3 separate regions of the Homo sapiens genome follow, and regions 1 and 2 are each linked to region 3. The links are contacts of gene promoters, found by promoter capture Hi-C in human tissues and cell types (Jung and others, 2019). All regions are on one chromosome and are shown on one strand. Each heading gives the region's core, a stretch centred on a gene start or on the middle of the fragment in contact. The rest is flanking DNA. Distances are from core to core; before and after follow the strand shown. Region 1 overlaps DNAJC8 (DnaJ heat shock protein family (Hsp40) member C8). Region 2 overlaps PTAFR (platelet activating factor receptor). Region 3 holds the start of THEMIS2 (thymocyte selection associated family member 2).

What was found. The method cuts DNA at HindIII sites, captures the fragments that hold promoters and counts their contacts. A contact is called where the count stands out against the background at its distance.
Region 1: a contact is called between a fragment that was not itself captured here and the fragment with the promoter of THEMIS2 in region 3, in 1 of the 25 tissues and cell types used here (spleen).
Region 2: a contact is called between a fragment that was not itself captured here and the fragment with the promoter of THEMIS2 in region 3, in 2 of the 25 tissues and cell types used here (bladder and dorsolateral prefrontal cortex).

Annotation. Positions count from the first base shown.
Region 1 is chr1:28,212,214-28,215,845 of GRCh38, forward strand. It overlaps DNAJC8 (DnaJ heat shock protein family (Hsp40) member C8), which reads right to left. Exons shown (of 9, transcript NM_014280.3): 3 at 2,727-2,783. Among named protein-coding and RNA genes, the nearest start is that of DNAJC8, 19 kb to the right of the region's middle. The HindIII fragment of the contact is 6,266 bases long and covers 1-3,632 here.
Region 2 is chr1:28,161,828-28,165,055 of GRCh38, forward strand. The region is part of intron 1 of PTAFR (platelet activating factor receptor); the gene reads right to left. Among named protein-coding and RNA genes, the nearest start is that of PTAFR, 13 kb to the right of the region's middle. The HindIII fragment of the contact is 3,366 bases long and covers 1-3,228 here.
Region 3 is chr1:27,871,013-27,874,600 of GRCh38, forward strand. It overlaps THEMIS2 (thymocyte selection associated family member 2), which reads left to right and starts at 1,532. Exons shown (of 6, transcript NM_001105556.3): 1 at 1,532-1,653. The coding sequence starts at 1,560. RefSeq lists a silencer at 1,380-1,649. The HindIII fragment of the contact is 20,371 bases long and covers 1-3,588 here.

The DNA.
Region 1 (3,632 bases), core at 499-2,998, 340 kb after region 3:
TAAATGAAATTAACTATTCAATATAGATGGTGGATACATGAATATTCGTTGTTCTATTCTTTTTTTTTTTTTTTTTTTTGAGACAGAGTGTTGCTCTATCATCCAGGCTGGAGTGCAATGGTGCTATCCCAGCTCACTGCAGCCTCAATCTCCTGGACTCAAGTGATCCTCCCACCTCAGCCTTCTGAGTAGCTGGGACTACAGGCACGGCTAATTTTTGGCTTTTGCTGTTGTTGTTTTTCGTTTTTTGTAGAGACGGGGTTTCACCATGTTGCCCAGGCTGGTCACGAACTCCTGAGCTCAAGCAATCTGCCCGACTCAATGTCCCAAAATACTAGGATTACAGGCATGAGCCACTATGCTTGTCCATTCTTTTTTCTATATAAAATTTTTATAATAAACCAGCTAAAAAAAAAAGAACTTTCATAGGTAATTCAGATACTCACAGTTAAAAACCATGACATATTGTCAATTGACAGAAACCAACTAGTTGGAACCCAGGGAACTATGTCGGGGAATGAGAACAAATGGGAATCTAACGCTCCGTTCAGCATTACTGGAACCATTATGCTGGGTTCTAATTCCAACTTCAATCACCTACTAGCTATGAGACCTCGAGCAAATCACTTAACCTATCTCTGCCTCCGCTTCCTGCTCTGTAAATGAGATAATACTATGTACCTATATCTAATTGGGCTGATATAAGAATGAAACAAACAATGCAAGTAAAGAAATTAGCAGACTAACACACGCTGACAATAGTTAGCATATAGTGAGGATACATTATGTGCCAAGAGTTACTCTAAATGCCTTCTGTGTAATACATCATTTAAATTCTTACAACAAACTCATGGGATAGACACCATTATTACATTTTACAAACGGGGTAACAGACACGGAAAGGTTAAATGTAACTTGCTCAAGTTTACACTGCTTGTTAAGTGGTACAGTCAAGATTTAAACTAGTTGTATAGCTCCAATATGCACACTCTTAACTATCAGTCCATATTAATGATTTATTAAGAATTCTTAACTCTTATTATTTATGTAGCTACATAAAAAATTGTTTTGACTATGAACTTAAATGCTTATTAATATGGGAATGATTAGTAATGCATATTAGAAAATTTGAAATTTTAGAAAAAGGAAAAAGCTAAATATAAGTATAGAGTAGAGCTTAGGAAGGAAAAAAAAAAGCTATAAAGTTATATAATGGGATATGATTACGTAGACCAAGTTAAAAAACATCTTGGCTTAACTGTAGATCAGAAAATGACTATGAGTCAGCAATATGGGGAAAATTACTGTACTGAAGAAACAAGCACACCACTGGATATTAACAAGTATCTCATCAGAAGCTGAAAATTACATTCAGCTCTGGTCAGACCCTATTAAAATATGAAGTACATAAGACTATAAAGAAGCTAAGGAAAGTTTTTTTAAAAGACATGGAATATATAGAAAATCCAATTTGCAAAGGCAAATTATAGGGACTACGATTATTCAACTCAGAAAAAAAGGTAGCCAGGCACGGTGGCTCATGCCTGTAATCATGGCACTTTGAGAGGCTGAGGCCAGCAGATCGCTTGAGCCCAGAATTGAGACCAGCCTGGGCAACATGGCGAAACTCTGTCTCTACAAAAAATACAAAAATTATCTGAGCATGGTGATGCACACCTGTAGTCCCAGCTACTGGGGAGGTTGAGGAGGGAGGATTGCTTAAACTCAGGAGGCACAGGTTGCAGTGAGCCAAGATCACACCACTGTACTCCAGCCTAGGTGACAGAGTGAGACCCTGTCTCAAAAAATAATAATAATTTTTAAGAAAAAAAGGCTGGGGGGAGGGTTACTCAGCTGTCAAAACTGGAAGGATTTTTTTTTTAAGTTTACTTTAAAACTTTGTAGTTCCAGTTATTAAACCTACGAATGGGCAAGATTCAGAAGCTATAGATCTCCTTTCCTGGAGAACTTTCAAAAAGCACTCTTTATACCAGTTATCTCTTAGGTATTCATTTAAGTTGGCAAAAGATAAAATTACGGCCGGGTGCAGTGGCTCACACCGGTAATTCCTGCATTTTGGGGAGGCTGAAGCAGGTAGATCACTTGAGGTCAGGAGTTCGTCACCAGCCTGGCCAACATAGGGAAACTCTGTCTCTACCAAAATACAAAAATTAGCCGGGTGTGGTGGCATGCACTTGTAATACCAGCTACCTGGGAGGCTGAGGCAGGAGAACTGCTTGAACCCAGGAGGTGGAGGTTGCAGTGACCTGAGATCATGCCACTACACTCCAGCGTGGGCGACAAAGCAAGACTCTGTCTCGAAAAATAAGAATAAAAATAAAAGATAAAATTACAGACAAATGGAGTCTTAAAGATAAAAATGTGCTATGAATCATTTGATATGTTCCCTCCTAGAAGACAGGGGGTTTGGTAGTTACAACTCCATGCAAGCTCTATTATTCTACTTTATACTTATCCCTCTTAATTAAGGAGTTGCAGAGATTCTATTTGGATATAAAATTCATTCTATTCATAGGTAAGCTATGGTCATTAAATTATTTAAGATTTTATATATTATTATGAGCTTTTTTTTACAAAACAGTTACACAGCCTTAAAAAAAAGTTAAATTTTGGCCCAAACATATCAAGTCAATAATAGCAAGTGATAAAAGAATCATGTGCTTCATACATTTTCAAAAAGTTCAAACAGGGAAATAGTACTGTACCTGCCGAAACCTCTTTTTTATTTCTTCATCTGTAACTTCAGGATCTATCTGAAGAACCTGGAAGTATCAAAATCAAAACCATAAAAAAGGTGAAAATAAATTACATGTATATTTAAGAGTTGCTCAGTAATTATATATATTATAATCAGCATCTAGAATAGTACCCCATGTTCTAGAACACAGGCTGGCACACAGTTCTAGAAATTGCTAAAGAAATATGAATGATCAAATCAACAGAATAACAATTATATTGTCTTATGGTACTCAAATAACATAATGCTTATTTTCATCATAAAAATAATAATTTATTTTACACCCAGAGACATTTTTACATGAGAAAATTTTGCATTTCTCCTTCATTCATTAAAAGAGTTTAACTCCCCCTCCCTTTATTTTTGCAAATGTCGAGAAACCGTAATAACTCAAAAAAGAAAAAAATAGCCCAATGGACACTTTATAATTTACAAGGCCCAGTGGTTCTCAATCAGAGTGAATATTAGAATCACCTGTGGAAACCTGTGAGCAATGGCTGGCCCACTCTACGAAAGTCTGATTCCAACCCCATAGAGCAGGGGTAGGGCCAATAGGAGGAACAACTCTATTTTTTTTTTTTTTGAGATGGAGTCTCGCTCTTATTGCCCAGGCTGGAGTGCAATGGCGAGATCTCGGCTCACTGCAACCTCCACCTCCGCGGTTCAAGCGATTTTCCTGCCTAAGCCTCCTGAGTAGCTGGGATTACAGGCACGTGCCACCACACCTGGCTAATTTTGTAATTTTAGTAGACACAGGGTTTCTCCATGTTGGTCAGGCTGGTCTCAAACTCCAGACTTCAGGTGATCCGCCTGCCTCAGCCTCCCAAAGTGCTGGGATTACAGGTGTGAGCCACCGCGCCCAGCCTTAAGCAAC
Region 2 (3,228 bases), core at 351-2,850, 290 kb after region 3:
ATAAGCTTTAGTAACCTATAAAATCTGTGTCTACCCCTGGCTGAACTCTAAAAAAGAAAAAAGGAACAAGTAAGAGGACGATCTGGATTATTCCAGCCAGAGAGTATCATGTGCAAAGGGCCTGTAATGGGAATAATTTCATCATGTTCTGAAGTAGGAACAAGAAACTGAAAGGTTGGTGTGGCCCTAGGGGAGTGAGAAATGGGAAGAGTGGGATGTGATCAGAGGACACCTGGCTGCAGATCACTCCTGAGCCATGGTAAGGAGTTGGGATTTTATTCTGTGAGCCTCGGAGAGCTGCTTCAGTGTCGCTAAGCAGGCAAGTAACATGATCGGACTCGCTCTAGCTGTCAGGTAGAGAATAGATGGTAGGGAGCAAGCGTGGAAACAGCAAGAGCATTTTGGAGGTCAGAGATGGTGGTGGCATGGACCAGAAAGTGGCATTTTCAATTCCTCTCCCCGTCCCCTGTACTCAGGGAGCTTGGCTGGGGCAAAAGTTTGGTAAACATTTGTCAGGTGAACAAACACCCAGCAACCGACAGGATTGCCTACTCCCCAGACAGAGCAGCTGCCACACAAGGCAGAGTGAGCCCTCTACAAACTCAGGACTCAAACTGTGGTCCTTGGACGAGCAGCATTGGCACCACCTGCAAGCTTGTTAGAAATGCAGAATCTTGGGTCCCACCCCAGATCTCCTGTATCAGAATCTGTATGTTGGCCGGGCATGGTGGCTCACGCCTGTCATCCCAGCAGTTTGGGAGGCTGAGGCAGGTGGATCACTTGAGGTCAGGAGTTCGAGACCAGCCTGACCAACATAATGAAACCCCCTCTCTAATAAAACTACAAAAATTAGCCAGGCATGGTGGTGGGTGCCTGTAATCCCAGCTACTCTGGAGGCTGAGGCAGGAGAATAATTGCTTGAACCCAGGAGACAGAGGTTGCAGTGAGCCAAGATCACACCACTGCACTCCAGCCTGGGCGACAGAGCGAGACTTTGTCTCCAAAAAAAAAAAAAAAAAAAAAAAGACTCCATATGTTAATAAGATTCCCAGGCGATTCGTGCACGCACCGAAATCTGAGACATGTTGTACCCCAACAACTGCCAGCCACACACTTGCCTGGGCTAACATCTTCCGTGGCTCCCCTGGCCCAGGATCAAGTCTAAGCTCCTTTCCCATCTTATTTTCCACCATTCCCCGCTACTCATTTTCTACTCTTGCTGCACTGAATTTCTCGCTGCTTCCCTAAAAACTCCATTTTTCCTCAAATCTCTTTGCCTTTCCAGCAGCCTGCTTTTGCCTATTGCTTTACCTAGAAAAATCTTACTCATCTTAAGACCTAATCTGAAAAAGCACTTCCTCTGGGATGCCTTCCCTGATCGCCACAGGCAAAATGAGTTGCCTTCTTCTCTGGGTCCCTATGCACTGGGCGCATTCCTCAGTCTAGCACCTGATACAGTATGTTTTAAGTATTAATTTCTGTGGCTGTTTCCTTGTCAGACTGGGCACTTCCTGAGGGCAGGGACTAGATCTTTTTCATCTCTTCAATCCCAGTGTCGGGCACCGAGGAATGAATGGATGAGTGGCCATGCCCTGATGATGGCTCCGAAATCCCCGGCACAAAGGAAGTGTGCACAGTCTCCCCAGGGGAGCTGTACTGGGGTGGAGTGGGTTAGGGAGAACAAGGTCTCTGGAGTCAGAAAGGTCTACAGGTTCATACCTGGCTTACCATTTACTTGCTGTATGACCTGGGGCAAGTGACCTCGCCTCTCTAACCTTCAATGTCTTCATTTGCAAAATCTTACAATCCTAACAATGGTTTCAAAGATAAGTATGCAAAGTGGCTGGAACAGGACCTGAGCCACAAATGACCAAGCCTCCCTCTCCCCACTGGCCCAGCTGCTTGGAGCCAGGGGAGGGGACTGTGGGCCAACATTGACCTAGGGGCTTTGACCTACACACTGGCTTTCCTGCCAGCTCCAGATAGAGCCTCCAGCTAATGGCAACAAAGCTTTCAACAGCTCAGGAAGAGGATGAACATTTGGAAAGAAAAGAAGAGGCTCAGACCACTCAGTTTAACACATGGGCACAGTTCCCTGATGGATCGAGGCTGGGCAGCTGGCCCAGGCACAGCCTTCAGCTGGGGGTGGGGTAGAGAGGCCATAAATATTCATGAGACAGAAGAATTCTGCTGTCTGGATCTGGTACCCTTTTCCCTGTGCAGCATTCGGCCCTCATCCCTGCTGGAAACATTCCCAGTCCCTAGGGAACCTGGAGAAGGGGTTCTCATCCATAGCTGGACAGCCAGAGAGGAGGGACCATCGGGAGATGGACAGAAGGAGGTATGTGCTGGTTGATTTCCCAGGCCAGATTGTGGGTTGGGAAGTTGGGTTCACCAGTCCTGCTAGCTCTTAACATTTGTGGGGCCAGTTGAGGTCAAAAGTACAAAATTCTAAATATTTATAAGCTATAAATAAGATACATCCAAGTTCATCCACAGCTCCTGCACCAGCAGTTCCTTGCAGCCCCGCAGGCCTGAGGGTGCATTCACCAACAGGGCAAGGACTAGAAGTGGTGAAGGCGGGGGAACACCACATTCCAAGTGGGCACACTCTCTTGGATCCAAGTACTCCTTGCTCTGTGGGGATCATGAGGCTGGAGCCCCCCTAATTTCAAGACACTGGGCACCATTTACTGGTATACAGTACATCTTGCCTATGATCATATTTCCTCCTCAGATCATCTTCGTGAGGCTGGTTTTACAAGATACCTAATTTTCTAGGGGTAAAAAGTGAGACTAGAGAAGAAAATAGATTTGTCCATAGTCACACAGCGGGGAAGTGGCAGACTTGGGATTTTGAACTCCAAGGTTCATTCTGACTCTCCTAGAACAAGCTGTGTCCCCTGCTAGAAGCAAACTGCTCCTTGGCCAGCTTGTCCACTCACAGACCTGTCTTACAGCCTGAGAATGGGAGCTCCAGATGCTGTGAGGCCCCAGGAAGAGATGCCTTTGACCTGGGGCCCTGCTTTTACCTTTGTTCCTCAAAGCTGGGAAGGGAATGCGACAAAGGGATGGCATGACCTGCTCTGTATCCATCTGACTCCCGCCTGGTAGGGCGAGAGCTGGGTCAGATCCTGGTTCAACCACTAAGCTCATCCTGTGATTCTGAGTCTCTGTTTCCTCATTTGTAAATGAAGATTTTTATATGGACTAAGAGAAAAGGATATT
Region 3 (3,588 bases), core at 282-2,781:
CCTGCCTCAGCCTCCTGAGTAGATAGGATTACAGGCACGTGCCACCACGCCCAGCTACTTTTGTATTTTTAGTAGAGCCGGGGTTTCTCCCTGTTGGTCAGGCTGGTCTCGAACTCCTGACCTCAGGTGATCTGTCCAACTTGGCCTCCCAAAGTACTGGGATTACAGGCGTGAGTCATTGTGCCCAGTAATTTTTTTGTATTTTTAGTAGAGACAGGGTTTTGCCATATTGGCCAGGCTGGTCTTGAACTCCTGACTTCAGGAGATCTGCCCGCCTCACCCTCCCAAAGTGCTAGGATTATAGGCGTGAGCCACCGCGCCTGGCCTTATTTTATTTTATTCTTTTTTTTAAGAGACAGGGTCTTGCTAGTTTGCCCAGGGTGGTCTAGGACTCCTGGTCTCAAGTGATCCTCCTGCCTCAGTCTCCCAAAGTGCTGGGATTACAGGCCACACCCAGCCTCTTCTCCCTGTTTTTTTGTTTTTGTTTTTGTTTTTTGAGACGGAGTTTTGCTCTTGTTGCCCAAGCTGGAGTGCAATGGTACAATCTCGGCTCACTGCAACCTCTGCCTCCCAGGTTCAAGCGATTCTCCTGCCTCAGCCTCCCGAGTAGCTGGGATTAGAGGTGTGTGCCACCACGTCTGGCTAGGTTTTTTTGTATTTTTAGTAGAAACGGGTTTTCACCATGTTAGTCTGGTCTCAAACTCCTGACCTCAGGTGATCCACCCGCCTCGGCCTCCCAAAGTGCTGGGATTATAGGCGTGAGCCATTGCGCCCGGCCCTCTTCTCCCTGTTTTAGAGAGTAAGAAACTGAGGTTCACACAATCAAAGTGATTTGCCTAACGTCATACAACGAGCAAGAGGAGACCTGGGATTTGAACCTATGTTGGTCTGACTCCTGAGGGACAGGGAAATGGAAAAGGCTTATCCCGAGCCTGTGGGGTCAGGATAAGTGGTTGGTCCGGCTTCTAAGCAGATTTCTCTTTAGCCTTAGGAAGAATTTTTAACTAGAATTGGTGAGGCCCGGCGTGGTGGCTCACAGGTGGATCACACCTGTGATCCCAGCACTTTGGGAGGCCGAGGTGGGAGGATCACTTGAGTCCAGGAGTTCGAGGCCAACGTAGACAATAATTATCGAAAGAGTATGGGAGTTCTGGAGAGGTAATGAGATCCCCTTCACCAGGAGGTTTCCGATAGAGGACCATGGAGTGTCCTGGAGGGACATTCGGGAGCCCTGACACTACATCTCCCTCCTCAAACCCAAAGGGCAGAGGCATGTCCCTCCTATGAGACGCAGAACAAGTCGGGCCGCGTCCCCTTTTTCTAACTGGGAGCACTGCTGAGGGGGCGTCTGGGACTTCTTCATCTTCATCATCGCCCCTTCCCCATAGGGTACTGCAGGGGGCGGGGGGCGGGGCTTCGGCGGGGCGGGGCTGCAGGGCTCCCGCGGGCTGGCGGGGCGGCTTCGGCGTGCGGGGCGGGGCATCGGCGGGGCGGGGCTGCAGGGCTCCCGGGGACCGCCCGCCCGCCCCTCAGTCTGAGCCCAGAGAGCCGCGGGGACCATGGAGCCGGTGCCGCTGCAGGACTTCGTGCGCGCCTTGGACCCCGCCTCCCTCCCGCGCGTGCTGCGGGTCTGCTCGGGGGTCTACTTCGAGGGTGAGCGGGGGCTGGAACCCCTCCGAGCACTCCCTTGGTGTGGGGCGGGGGCAGAGACCCGGAGAAGACGTTAGCAATCCGGGGAAACTGCCCCTGGGTTCAAATCCCGACACTGCCACTGGCCAAGCTGTGTGATTTGGGGCCGCACTCAACCTCTTTGGACCTCGGCTTTTGCTTTCGTGGAACGGGGACCGCTGACCTGCCCCGCAGGGTAGTGATGAAAAGTCAGTGGGTTGAGGCGCGGGAGGTGGATGCAGCCGGGCCACTCCTAGGTGGCCCCGCGGTGCGCATGGGACAGAGCTCCGACCGCGCCGGGACGCAGCATTAGGCCGCTGGTGGTCGTGGCTGCGTCTTGATTCTGAAGTGCAGGGTCAGTCTTCCCGTCTGTGTCCTCCCACTCCTCCCCCGGCCCTCCTCTACACTGCCTTCCTTCAGTCCCTGCGTCCACCTTGGCCTTCTGTTTGACCATGGGCAGTACTTGATTTGATCAGCTCTTCAGTTCTCAGCTTAAATGGCGCTTCCTCCCGGAAGCCTTCCTGGCTCTCTGCTCCTTGCACGCCCCCGTACATCTGCCGTCTGCCCGCAGCGGCCTGGTTCACAGGGATGGGCACACAGCAGGCGCACAGTCACTAGTCATTGCCTGAAGGAGCAAGCGGTGAGGGAATAACAGACAGTGGAGGGCAGGGTAAGACAGCACAGTGGATGGGTGGCCAGTGCTGCTCTGTGGGCAGGGAGGACCCGTGGGCCACCGAGTAGGGGAGATGGAGGTGGAGGAGAGAGATGCTGTGTGGGGGTGCGGGTTCCTTCCTTAGAGAGCGAACTGAGGCTTGAAGGCCCTGCCCCATCCTGTTCCCTGGCTGCAGAAAAACGCTCTGTCGCAGCAGCTTCCAGCAGAGTGTTTGAGGTCCCAAGTGGGGTCCTAGACCAAGGAGGTCCCTCATGAAGGGTCCCGCAGGGGGCCACCACCTCGCAGTGGGTCTCTCCAGGTCTGCTTGGGAATCTGGCAGATCTGGGTTCAAATTCTGACTCTACCTCCAGGGGCTTTCTGCAGGAAGGCGCCTGGGATCTGTTTGCTCTTCCCCCAGCCCAGGACCAAGCGTCTTCGTCCTCCCAGCACCCTTTGCCTGCTGGTGTTACAACACCTGTTTCCTCATCCTGCCTGACGCGGGATGGTGGAAATGGTGGAAGTCAGAGTGATGGTGACTAGAGAAGGCCCTGACAGGGTGTGGGTGTGCGGATGGGGTGAGTGCGGAGGACAGATGGCCATGCCAATAGGGGCAGGCGTCTACAGGGCACTCAGAAGGGGCTGGCTGCGTGGTTGGTTAGGAGCACTGGCTCTGGAGGCAAACACCCTGGGTTCAACCTAGGTTTTTTTTTTTTTTTTTGAGACAGAGTCTGGCTCTGTTGCCCAGGCTGGAGTGCAGTGGCACGATACAGCTCACTGCGGCCTCGACCTCCTGGGCTCAAGTGATCCTCCCACCTCAGCTTCCTGAGAGGCTGGGACCACAGGCACGCACCAGGACAACGTCCAGCTAATTTTTGTATTTTTTGTAAAGATGGGGTTTTGTCATTTTGCCCAGGCCGGTCTCAAACCCCTGGACTCAAGTGATCTGCCTGCCTCGGCCTCCCAAAGTGTTAGGATTACAGGCATGAGCCACCACACCAGGCCCTGTTTTTTGTTTAATAGAACATAGGTTGTGTGTGATAGCTCATGCTTATAATCTCAACACTTTGGGAGGCTGAGGTGGGAAGATTGCTTGAGCCTAGGAGTTCGAGATCAGCCCTGGCAACATGGTGAGACATCATGTCTACAAAAAATTTTAAAATAAAAAATTGCAGGGTGTGGTGGCTCATGCTTGTAATCCCAGCACTTTGGGAGGCTGAGGCAGGAGGATCACTTGAACTCAGGGGTTCAAGACCAACCTGGGTAACATA